Regions from separate parts of the Homo sapiens genome. Here region 1 is linked to region 2. Evidence: promoter capture Hi-C in 16 types of primary human blood cells and fetal thymus (Javierre and others, 2016). All regions are on one chromosome and are shown on one strand. The core of a region is centred on a gene start or on the middle of the fragment in contact, and the rest is flanking DNA. Distances in the headings are between cores, read along the strand shown. Region 1 holds the start of MAP1S (microtubule associated protein 1S). Region 2 holds the start of PIK3R2 (phosphoinositide-3-kinase regulatory subunit 2).

Region 1 (6,028 bases), core at 4-2,503, 430 kb after region 2:
AAGATTCATCAGCAACAAAGCCTCCACCTCCTCCATCTCCACCTCCTCGCTGCTCCTATGCCCTGCCAGACCCGTTTCCACTCACCGCCCTTGCAACAGCTGTTTCCCCTGCCTGGAAGTCCATCCCCCTGCCGCCCCCACCTGTTCCTACTGGCCAGGGGGCCCTTCCCCCTCAGCACCTTCGGGTGCTAAGACTGACTGTCCTCTCAGTCCCTTGCAGCCTTCTCATCCTTCCTGACACCATGTGAGCTGGAAGCTTGTTCCATCTCCTCACTCGCTTTGGGTCCATCCCCAAACCAGACCTGTGTTGGCAGGGCTGAACCTGTCTATCATCCCGGCCATATCCCTGTGTCCACTGCCCAAAGGCCTGGCGCATAGCAGGTGCTCACTAAACACTCCTCAAGCACATGAACCGAGGTGCGTGTTCCTGTCCCATTTTACATGCAATGAAACGCCAGGTCCAGATGCTCCGAGGGATGGGGGATGAACACCCATCTCCACCCACGGGCGCATCACGCCCGCCAGTCCCACTGAGCCAAGTGGCTGCAGGTGAACCTGGCAGGTGCGCCTATGACTCACCTCCCTAGGTGCCAAATCCCCAGGGCAGGCCGCACCCGCCCACACCCCAATTAGCAGCTCCTTGTGAGGCAACAGAAAGCGGGCCCCGGGGCTCCAGGCCCAGCCTCCCCCATATCTGCTTCTCCCTCCGGGAGATCTCTATCTAAGCTGCTAAGACCTGGAGATCCAAAGCGACCCCAGGCCCTACCCCCGGGCAGGCCAGTCAGGCGGGAAGCGGAGCCGTGGTCCAACTGCAAGGGTCCCCAAGCCCAGGCCCGTGTCCCCTCCCCTATCTTCACCCGGAGTTGGGGCGGGGCAGCCCTGCCCAGCCCAGGCCCGGATGCCACTTTCTCCGCGGGCACCCACGGGCACCCCGCCTTTGCCCGCGTCGTGCGCCTAACGGTGAAGGGGACCCAGCCCCAGGCCCGCGACCCCCGCCCCGGAGCCCGGGTCCCGCCGCCGCCGCCGCCGCCGCCCCACCCCGCCGGCCCCGGGCCCAGACGCGCGAACGGGCCCGCCTCCCGGGCTCCCGCGGGCCCCCAGGCCAGCCCGACCTCTTTCGAGCTCCTCCAGGACGTAGGTGAGGAGCCCCGGGCTCCCGAACTCGCTGCCCACCACGAGGAGCAGTGAGCTCGGAGCCGCGGCAGCCCCAGATCCAGCCACCGCCGCCATCTTCGGGCCGCCCCGGCGTTCTCGGCGCCCGCCCCGCAGGCCCCGCCTCTTAAAGGGGCCGCACCGGAAGGGCTGAAGACCCCGCCCGGAACCACCGCATCCCCGCCCCTTTTTGTCGACCACTTACAGGCCCTTTGAGGTCGTGGAGAGCAGGGGATGCGGGCGTTAAAGGGGTTGGCCGACTCCTGGGTGTCCGCTTGGGAGCCGCCTCTCCCAAGTGACCATTCATTCATTTTTTTTTTCATTGAACAAGCTTTGATTGCGTGCCTGCTGCATGTAGGTCAGAACTCCTGCCCTCCAGGAACTCACATCACATGACAGTAGGCCGCATCAGAACCCGGTGCCTATGGATGCTCCCAGCTCTCTAGGTCAGGGCTTGAACAGAGAAAAGAAATCTATCTTGTAGGTAGGGCTTTAAGGGATGTGTAGGAGTTTGCCTTGTGGGTGGTGGGGCAAGAGCTGGTGAGGCAGAAGTTTACAGCAGGTGCAAAGTTTTAGAGGTAAGAAAGTACATGTGTGTTTGGGACACAACCGGAGCACTCTGGGCCTGCCTGGAACAGGGCAACACTTATTCTGCACCTCCTGTGCGCCAGGTATTTTATTGCATTAGCTCATTACATACAAGCACAAAGCGATGAGTTTTGTGCTTGTATGTAGGCACAGATGAGTAGGCACAGTTACTGTGGTCACTTTCAGAGGAAAGAAGAGGAAACTGAGATTTGGAGGGATGAAGTCACCAGGCCTGTAAGTGGTAGAGCAGGTTTGAACCCAAGTGGGTCTTACTCTAGATCCAGCCTGTGCAAGGGACTGCCTGCGTTGCGCACATGGGTACCTCTCTCTCCCCAGATAATCCTCTTTAGGCTTTTCTTTCCTTTCCTCCCCTCTCTTCTCCTCTCCTCCCCTCCCCTCCTCTCCTCTTCTCCCCTCCCCTCCCCTTCTCTCCCCTCTCCTCTCCTCTCCTCCCCTCCCCTCCCTTCCTCTCCCTCCCCTCCCCTCCCCTCCTCTCCCCTCTCCTCTCCTCTCCTTTCCTTTTCTTGAGATGGAGTCTCATTCTGCCGCCCAGGCTGGAGTGCAATGGCACAATCTCAGCTCACTGCAACCTCTGCCTCCCGGGTTCAAGCGATTCCCTTGCCTCAGCCTCCCAAGTAGCGGGATTATAGGTGTCCGCCACCATGCCCTGCTAATTTTTGTATTTTAGTAGAGATGAGGTTTCTTTTCTTTTCTTTTCTTTTCTTTTCTTTTCTTTTCTTTTCTTTTCTTTTCTTTTAGAGACAGAGTCTCGCTCTGTCGCCCAGGCTGAAGGGTAGTGGCGCGATCTCGGCTCACTGCAAGCTCCACCTCCCAGGTTCATGCCATTCTCCTGCCTCAGCCTCCCGAGTAGCTGGGACTACAGGCGCCCGCCACTGTGCCCAGCTAATTTTTTGTATTTTCAGTAGAGACGGGGTTTCACCGTGGTCTCGATCTCCTGACCTCGTGATCTGCCTGCCTCGGCCTCCCAAAGTGCTGGGATTACAGGCGTGAGCCACCGTGCCCGGCAGAGATGGGGTTTCACCATGTTGGCCAGGCTGGTCTCGAACTCCTGACCTCAAGTGATCCTCCTGCCTTGGCCTCCCAAAGTGCTGGGATTACAGGCGTGAGCCGCCGCGCCTGGCCCCCTTTAGCCCTTTGACCCATAGGGGCTACTACTTGACAAATCATCTTGCTTGGAACTTCTGGACAGTGGTCCATGCCCAGGAAACATTGAACCTCCTTTCTCAGGAGTGAGCTCCCTGTCTCCGGGAGTATGCAAAGAAAAGCAGAACAGAAATGGGAAAGATCTGGGAAGGCGAATCAGCCTCCCGCTGCCGTTTATTATCTAGGTTGTTCAGCCCAACTTCCTCCCTGGCCAGTGTGTAACAGCCACTGGCCACGTGCCGTCTACCATTCTTGCACTCCACTTCCTCTCTCTCTTTTTGGTTCTGGCATCCTTCCTCTATCCTTGTCCCTCCCCCTTGGCTCCCTTCCCTGTGTCTCGCCTGCCTGTGATTTCTTCTGTTATTGCTGTGAGCAGTAATAGTAGTGGGAGTGTCTGTGTCGGGCACTATCTCCCCTATAAGGCTGGAAACTTTTGGAAGCCTGAGGCCTCTCTGGGGCCCTGGCCTTGTGCAACACAAGGCTTGGGCATCTGAGAAGGGATATGATAAAGTCTTTTGGAATGGGCTGAAAGGCCTATTTGTCCACTATTCCTTCCTTCCTTCCTTCCTTGTGTATTTATGGATGGGTCCAGGATTCGAACCCAGGAGCTTCTGAATGGAAGTCTATCCACTTCCTTCTGCCCACGCTGTGAATTATGATTGTTGGTACTAATTCTTTTTTTTCTTTCTTTTTTTTTTTTTTGAGACGGATTCTCACTCTGTCGCCCTTGCCAGAATCATTCTGAGAGAGAGAGAGAGAGTCTTGTTCTGTCAAGCAGGCTAGGTTGGAGCACAGTGGTGTAACCTCGGCTCACTGCAAGCTCCGCCTCCCGGGTTCAAGGGATTCTCCTGCCTCAGCCTCCTGAGTAGCTGGGATTACGGTACCCACCACCATGCCTGGCTAATTTTTGTATTTTTAGTAGAGACATGGGGTTTCACCATGTTGGCCAGGATGGTCTCGAACTCCTGACTTCAAGTAATCTGCCCCACTTGGCCTCCCAAAGTGCTGAGATTATAGGTATGGGCCACTGCACCGGCCTGTTGGTATTAATTCTATTACTAGTTGGTCTTACAGGGCCTGAAGAAATGTCTCCACTAGGGGGATCTGATTTGGGGATGAAGGTCTCCCCCATTAGGTTTTTGGGAGATAATGTCCTGAGTACTTGGAGCCATGAGGTCTTCCTGTCCCAAAGCATTTCCCAAGCTTGAGGACTCTGGTGTGGGACATGTGGGGTGCATTTCCCTAGAAACTGAGAAGCCTCTGAGACCACTGCTCAAATCCCAGGCATGGGACTCTGGTCTCTGGTTTCTGGCCCAGCTCCATGACTGTTTCAAGGTCACCATCCCCAGAGGCGTCAGATGATGGCATTTGTGGGGAAAACGGAACCCTGAGCCCTCAGGACTGCTGGATATTCTCATCTTCTCCTGGCAATTATTTTCTTATTTTAACAGTTTTGTTGAGGTTTAATATAGACATGGTCAGGCTGGGTGTAGTAGCTCACACCTGTAATCCCAATATTTTGGGAGGCTGAGACAGGCGGATCACTTGAGGTCAGGAGTTTGAGACCAGCCCGGCCAACATGGTGAAACTCCGTCTCTACTAAAAATACAAAAATTAGCCAGGTGTGGTTGTGGGCTATTCAGGAGGCTGAGGTGGGAGGATCACTTGAGTCTGGGCTGTGGAGATTGCAGCGAGCTGAGATCACGCCACTGCACTCCAACCCAGCCTGCTTGACAGAATGAGTCTCTCTCTCTCTCTCTCTCTCTCTATCTACAGTGGTGTGATCTCGACTCACTACAACCTCTGCCTCCCAGGTTCAAGTGATTATCCTGCTCCAACCTCCCAAGTAGCTGAGATTACAGGCACCTGCCACCATGCCCAGGAAGTTTTGTGTTTTTAGTAGAGACGGGATTTCACCATGTTGGCCAGGCTGGTCTTGAACTCCCGGTGTCAGGCCAGCCTTGGCCTCCCAAAGTGCTGGGATTACAGGCATGAGCCACCGTGCCCGGCCTTTTTTTTTTTTTTTTTTTTTAAGACAGGGTCTCATTCTATCACCCAGGCTGAGGTGCACTGGCTTGATCTCAGCTCACTGCAACCTTGACCTTCAGGGCTCAAGAGATCCTCCCACCTCAGCCTCCCAAGTATCTGGGACTACGGGTGTGCGCCGCCATGCCTGGCTAATGTTTTGTATATTTTGTAGAGATGGCATCTCCTTGTTGCCCAGGATGCTCTCAAACTCCTAGGCTTAAGAGATCCACCTTGACCTCCCAAAGTGCTGGGATTACAGGGTCAGGTTACCCAGGCTGGAGTGCAGTGGCACAATCTCAGCTCACTACAACCTCTGCCTCCAGGGCTCAAGCAGTCCTCCCACCTCAGCCTCCTGACTAGCTGGGACAACAGGTGCAGGCCACCTCTGCTGGCTAATTTTTGTATGTTTTGTAGAGATGGGATTTTGCCGTATTGCCCAGGCTGGTCTCAAACTCCTGAGCTCAGGTGATCCACCTGCCTCAGACTCCCAAAGTGCTGGGATTACAGGCATGAGCCACTGCACCCGGCCTCCATTTTAACCATTTTACAGTGTACAAATCAGTGACATTTAGTGCATTTACAACGTCCTGCCACCCTCGCTAATATCTAGTTCCGGAATACTTTCATCCTCTTAAAAAGAAACTCTGTCCTAGGGCGGGCATGGTGGCTCATGCCTGTAATCCCAGCACTTTGGGAGGCAGAGGCAGGAAGATCCATTGAGCCCAGGAATTCAAGACCAGGCTGGACAGCATAAGGAAACCCTATCGCTCTATTCGGAATTTTTTTTTTTTTTTTTTTTGAGAAGGAGTCTTGCTTTGTCACCCAGGCTGCAGTGCAGTGGCACCATCTCAGCTCACTGTAACCTCTGCCTCCCAGGTGCAAGCAATTCTCCTGCCTCAGCCTCCTGAGTAGCTGGGATTACAGACATGCACCACCACGCCTGGCTATTTTTTTTATTTTTAGTAGAGACAGGGTTTCGCCATGTTGGCCAGGCTGGTCTTGAACTCCTGATCTCAGGTGATCCACCCACCTCAGCCTCCCAAAGTGCTGGGATTACAGGTGTGAGCCACTGTGCCTAGCCTATAATTTTTTAAAT
Region 2 (6,106 bases), core at 3,289-5,788:
ACTCTGGCCGGTGGGTTGGGAAACTCAACCCTGAGAGTGGCCTGGGATCAATCTGCAGAATGGGGAGGGGGTTCCCATCAGAACTGCATCACCCCGACTTTGCAGGTGAGGAATTGTGGGTCAGAGGGGCTGCAACCTCCCCCGTGGGTGCACAGCCAGGTGGGGCTCAGGTGACTTCAGCACATTTCCGAGGGGTTGGGTCCCAGCATCCCCAGGGACCAACCCTGTTGTTTCCAGATGAGGAAACTGAGGCCTCGAGGGGGCGGGTTCTGGCCGAGGTCACATAACCCTGGAAGATTCAGAGGGTGGGGCTGGGCAGCCGCCCCACGTGGGGCCGTGTATGGTGGCTGGACAGAGGCCAGGCAGAGGAGGGAGGTGGCTGTTACCAGGGGGAGAGGCAGATTCTGGCTGGGAGCCCAGACGGGGCCACCTCCTGCTCCTTCAGGCCGAGGCAGGACGCAGGCCTGGGCCCTGGAGATACCAGATGCCTGGAGGCTGGGGCCAGCGTCGCACCACCTCAGCACCCCCTATTCCGCCCTGCGCTGGGGGACTCTGGTTTGCCTTTGGGCAATGTCACCCTGGCACAAAGCAGGCCTGGCACCTCCCGGGGCTTTGGCCTCCCTGGGTGACCAACTGGTTTCAAGTACGGCATTTGACGGCCTTGCACTCAGGCCTCCCGGTCTGCACACAGGGCCTTTTGCTGGGCTGCTGGGAGGGTCGGAGCAGACCATGCCGAGCATGCAGCACCTCTTAGCCTCCTCCTTGCAACCTGGGCCACAGTTTCCCCGGCCAGAGCCCACACTCCCTGCCCATCAAACAGCAGTCACTGAGTGGGCTCGGTGCCCCCGATTCTCTACACCTGGCACACCCCTGGCAAGTGGTGATGGCCAAGGGTCTTTGAAGAGGGATGTGGGGTCCTCATATCCCACTGTGCTGTGTGGCCTCAGCTGAGCAGCCCACATCCTACCCTCCTTGTGGCTTCATTTTGGAAATCAGGGTCTCCAAAGGGGTTCTTCAAGGGACCCTGTCTGCAAAAGGCAGGATGAAGCTAGGCTGAGCCTCTGAATCCTACTGAACACTCTCCATTGTCCTCAAAATCAATCCCACTAAGTCCTCCATGCCAGCGCACATTGCCCTCCCCTTCCTCCCTCTGGTCCTCCTGCTGGCCGTTCCCGCCATTAGAGTTCTACTCCACAGCCTCTGCCCTCGCTGCCCCCACTGCCTTGAGCTTCCACCCTCGCATCTTCCCACGCAAGCCCCCTTCCTCATGGCATGTGTCACCTCCTGAACCCACTCTCATCCCTTCTTGAACCAGAAGCTCATGAGGGCAGGAACAGGCCTTGTGTCCACTGCTGAGCCTAGCACTGAAGACACTTGTCAAATGACCAAATGTCCTTTTTCCTCCTTCCTTGGAGATCCCATTGCCTCACTGGACAGAAGAGGAGACCAAGGGTCTGAGGGGACCACCCCCCTTTCCAGGGCCCCTGCTTGCTGCTCACCTGGCTCAGGGGCCCCATCACGGGGCCTGGCGGGCAGTGGGCGGGGGCCCCGTGGGCGAGGGCCGGGCCGGGCCAGGGCCACGGGCCCCAGGAACTCCACATAGGTGCCAGGGAAGTCACCTCGCTGCCGTGTGCGCTCGTTGAGGCCGGGCATCCAGCCCACGCTCTGTGGGCAGCGCTCGCCACCCTCGGCCACGCCCAGCGCCTGCAAGGCCGCCCGGCTCACTACCAGCACGTCGCCGGGCAGCAGCTCCAGGTCCTCCGGCCGCTCCCGGCGGAACGGGTACAGAGCGCGGTACTGGAAGCCCTCAGGGCCCGCCATGGCCGCGTGAGTGGGGTGGGGTCTGGATGGTTAGGTGGCTGCTTGGAGCCCCACTGGCCCCATTGGTTGAAGCAGGGCTGGGAGGGTCCGCTGGGTTGGCTTGGGGTGCTGGGACCTCTATCTCCAGCAGTCACAGGCGACCACAGGGGCCGCTCATGCCTCGCTTCAAATTATTCCATGACCCTTACAAGGGCCACTCGTCACTGGGTCCACCATTCGTCAGCTGGTGGGAGGGAGTTGGTGGTGTGGTGTCAGGTCACTGGGCCATTGAGTCCTCCATCAGCAGGTGAGGCTGGGGCAGGCCGCTCACGCCCTCACACGGAGGGCCATGGGCGCCCAAGGCTGGCGGCTCTGCTGGCTGCACCAGACAAGGGAGCCAAGGGTGCAGGCTGCCACCATGCTCGGCCAGCTGAGGACGCCGACCTAGGGAGACAGGGATAGGGCAGCGTTAGCCAGGCCAACTCCTCTCACCCCCAACACGGAGATGGGCCCAAATCCTGATTTGGAATTCCCTGAATCACTGGGTGACCTTGGGGCCGGTCCCTCTCAGGGCCTCAGCTTCTCTATCTGTAAAATGGGTATACTGACAGCCTTCCCTTGGAGCTGCTGGGAGTAGAGTTCCCAAGAACCTGCCCCAGGTATACTACATGCTCAGTAAATCAGTTTTTTTTTTTTTTTTTTTTGAGATAGAGTCTTGCTCTGTCACCCAGGCTGGAGTGCAGTGGTGTGATCTCAGCTCACTGCAACCTGTCTCCCAGGTTCAAGCAATTCTCCTGCCTCAGCCTCCCGAGTAGCAGGCCACCACACCCAGCTAATTTTTGTATTTTTAGTAGAGACGAGGTTTCACCATGTTGGCCAGGCTGGTCTTGAACTCCTGACCTCAAGTGATCTGCTCGCCTTGGCCTCCCAAAGTGCTGGGATTACAGGCATGAGCCACCTTGCCCAGCCTTTTTTTTTTTTTTTCCAATAGAGGTGGGGTCTTGCTATGTTGCCCAGGTTGGTCGCAAACTCCTGGGCTGAAGCAGTCCTCCTGCCTCTGCCTTCCAAAGTGTTGGGATTACAGGTGTGAGCCACCGCGCCCGGCCAGTAAACAGGCTTTTCATCACCCCTGTTACAGATGGGGAAACTGAGGCTCAGAGCAGGGAGGTATCTAGGGCCGTGCAGTAGGCCAGGAGGAAGCCAGGACTTACACCTAGATCTGCCGACTTGGCCCAGTTGGACATGAGGGGGCAGCAGCCAGGTGGCCAGATACCTAGGGCAGGGAGGACGCAATGGAGGCCACTCCGGGTGCTTTGGGAGCTCCATAGAGGGGTCAGGCCAGCTGAACTAAGAGGTAGGGAACAAAGTCCAGGAAGAGGCCTCTACACAAGCAAAGGCCTCGAGGTGAGTCCAAGCAAATGGACCTCCAGTCTCTGCAGAGGAGGAGTGAGTGGGCTGGCAGGTAGCTCCAGCCTGGGGCCCAGAGTAGGCACAAAATGCAGATGGGGAGGTGCTTAGAAGGAACCTTAGCCCCAGGCAGGGACAGGGAGCCAGGAGAAGGTGGGGGTACTGCAGCTGAGGAGGAGGGGAGGCTGCCGGCAGCAGGGCATTGATTATTCCCCAGGAGTCCCAGCCTGGGGAGGCGGAGATAGGCACACATTCCCAGCCTAGCCCTGCGGGTTCAGACGCCCTGTGATGGACAGGGCTAGGGTCGGGGGATGGACGTGCTGTTCTAGAGAATGGATCATCACAGCGGATAGGAAGGCGCGACAGGCAGACGGAACGGCACATGCAAAGCCTTGGCAGTGGGTTAAGTTGCTTGTCAAGGATTCAGGGTGGCTATAAGGATAGGTGCTATCCACCAAGAGGCCCGAGTGTCAGGTGGAGGCTCTGAGCATCCTTCAGTCACGGGGAACCCCAAGAGGTGTCCGAGCAGGGCGGAGGGGCGCCACATTCTCGGGTGCCCAATTTACCCATTCCTAGGCCTCTGTTACCCTCATTCTACAGGTGGGGAAACTGAGGCCCCGAGAGGGGATGCCCAGAAAACCGCCTGGATCTGCCTGCCAGCCCGCCCCCACGCCCCGGTGTGCGCGCCCCGGGAGCAGCGCTCCCCGAATCCGGGAGGCGGGAGGGGCGGGGCAGGCAGGGCTGGGGGCTCCGCGGGTGAAGGCAGGGCCTGAGCGCTCACACAGACGCGCACTTGGGTCTGCGTGGACCCGGCCACCCGGCTAGGGGACCGGAAGTGGGTTCGACCCCCGGCCCTCCCGCACCCCATTCTGCCCCGCACAATGCCTGGGCGCCCCTCGGTACTATTCGAAGCCCCATTCCAGGCAGGGCCTCCCTTCATTTGGGGCCTCGGCTCCAGTCCGGTATCTTGGACGCGGGGAGTCTCTCCCCATTCTGCCCCGACCGTCCCAAGGAGGCTGCACCGCTGCGGAGCCGAGCCCGAGGCCCCCCCTTGCCTGCGGCCCCCCCAGTTCCCGCGGGGCCCGACGCAGCCTGGCGCTTGCGTTCTGGCTTCCACCGGGGCCCGGCACTGCCCCCGGGCGCCCCGCATTTAAGCACACTCCCAGCCGCCCCCGCCACGAGGGCCAGTCAGGACTCACCTGGTCGCGGCCGCCACCGCCGCCGCAGCCGCCGTCACACCAAGCCAAGCCCGCCCCGTGGCTCCACCGCGGCCACCGTCGCCGCAGCCGCGGGATCCCCGCCTCCGCCGCCGCCACGGTTCCGAGCGGCCTGGCCCGCCCCCGGCGGAAATGCCCGAGCGCATTCGAGCCGGGCGGATGAACCGAGGCCGAGGCGGAGCCTGAGGTAAGGGGGCACCCGAGTGTTTCCGGAAGTAGCCGAACGTAATCCCGCGGGACTGGTGGACTAGAGGGTGCCCCCGAGACAGCCGAGCGTTTCCAGAGGTAGCCGAGTGCAATCGGGTCGGCGAGGGATCCGAGACTGGGCTCGGCTGGGCTTAGAGACGCCCGAGCGCTTTCGGAAATGGCCGAACACTCTCTACGGCCGCACTGGCACAACTGAGGCTGATCCCCAAGACCGCGGAGCGTTTCTGGAAATAACCGAATGTGCTCAGTGCCCAATGGAGGCCTTGGGAGTTTAGACCCAGAGGCGACCGCCAGCTTATGGGAATTACTGAAGCATAGATGGTTCCAGGGGACAAATGAGGCGTTCTCAAGCTCAGCAAACAGGGGGCAGTAGAGTGGGGAAAGGGCCTGCCGCAAAAAGCAGAAGTCGGAGAAAGCCAGGGTTGAAGGAGTTTCCATGGCAACCCAGAGCGTCCGGAAACAGCCAACGATCTCGACCCCTACGGGCACTAGAATTTAGCGGACTTGAGCCTAGATGCCGACGGTTTCCGGAAATAGCCGAACGCACTCGGAGATGGGGCTGTAGCCAAGAGTGTTTGCATGCCGGCTGAGCGCCCCGGAAGTAACGGATTGCTCTAGGGCTGGGCCGGGTTCGGCTAGAGGGAGTTTTATGGCAGAGCGCAAGCTAAGACCAGGATAGAAAGGACGCGACGATTGCTTATTTTGTTATTATTTTTTGAGACGGAGTTTCGCTCTTGTTGCCCAGGCTGGAGTGCAATGGCGCTATCTCGGCTCGCCGCAACCTCCACCTCCCGAGTTCAAGCGATTCTCCTGCCTCAGCCTCCCGAGCAGCTGGGATTACAGGCATGCGCCACCACGCCCGGCTAATTTTGTATTTTTAGTAGAGACGGGGTTTCTCCATGTTGGTCAGGGTGGTTTGGAACTCCCGACCTCAGGAGATCCGCCCGCCTTGGCCTTCCAAAGTGCTGGGATTACAGGCGTGAGCCACCGCGCCCCGCCGCTTATTTATTTTATTAACATAGCCCAGGGCGCCCAGGAGGTCGAGGCTGCAATGTGCCGTGATTGCGCCACTGTACTCCAACCTGGGTTACAGAGCGAGACCTTGTCTCAAAAACATAAAAATAAAAAACATAGCTCAGGGCCCAGATGTCTGGAGGAAGCTTTTAAAGGCAGGGCTATGATGGAGTACTCGCAGGGAGAGGGTAGCAGGAGGCTGGTACCAGCGATGGCATCAGGAAGAATCTCAACAGCGAACTGCTATGCAGTCCTCAAAACCCACTTGCAATGACTTTGAGCCATGGGTCTATTTCACTCCGCTCCCCTCCCCACTCTTCCCTTCCTCCTTTCTCAGCCCCTCACAAATCCAGACGTTGGAGCTCATCTTTGTAAATACGGGCTTTTATTCACTGCCAGCTCCAGGATGGAAGGAGGGGGTGAATCATGCACAGCCTTGGTCTACCCTCCAACACTAGGCA

What was found. Contacts are between HindIII fragments. The CHiCAGO score rates a contact against its expected background, and 5 or more counts as called.
Region 1: a contact is called between the fragment with the promoter of MAP1S here and the fragment with the promoter of PIK3R2 in region 2, in 2 of 17 cell types (fetal thymus and endothelial precursors). The highest score is 6.9, in fetal thymus.

The regions. Positions count from the first base shown.
Region 1 is chr19:17,714,705-17,720,732 of GRCh38, reverse strand. MAP1S (microtubule associated protein 1S) reads right to left here and starts at 1,253. Exons shown (of 7, transcript NM_018174.6): 1 at 1,113-1,253. The coding sequence starts at 1,230. RefSeq lists enhancers at 62-211, 602-671, 2,722-3,223 and a silencer at 1,022-1,071. The HindIII fragment of the contact is 1,227 bases long and covers 259-1,485 here.
Region 2 is chr19:18,151,595-18,157,700 of GRCh38, reverse strand. PIK3R2 (phosphoinositide-3-kinase regulatory subunit 2) reads right to left here and starts at 4,538. Exons shown (of 16, transcript NM_005027.4): 1 at 4,407-4,538; 2 at 1,500-2,244. The coding sequence starts at 1,821. MAST3 (microtubule associated serine/threonine kinase 3) reads right to left here. Exons shown (of 28, transcript NM_001393504.1): 28 at 6,014-6,106. RefSeq lists enhancers at 217-1,075, 4,688-4,967, 4,273-5,165, 5,708-5,787 and silencers at 3,668-3,887, 4,198-4,577. The HindIII fragment of the contact is 8,629 bases long and covers 1-5,793 here.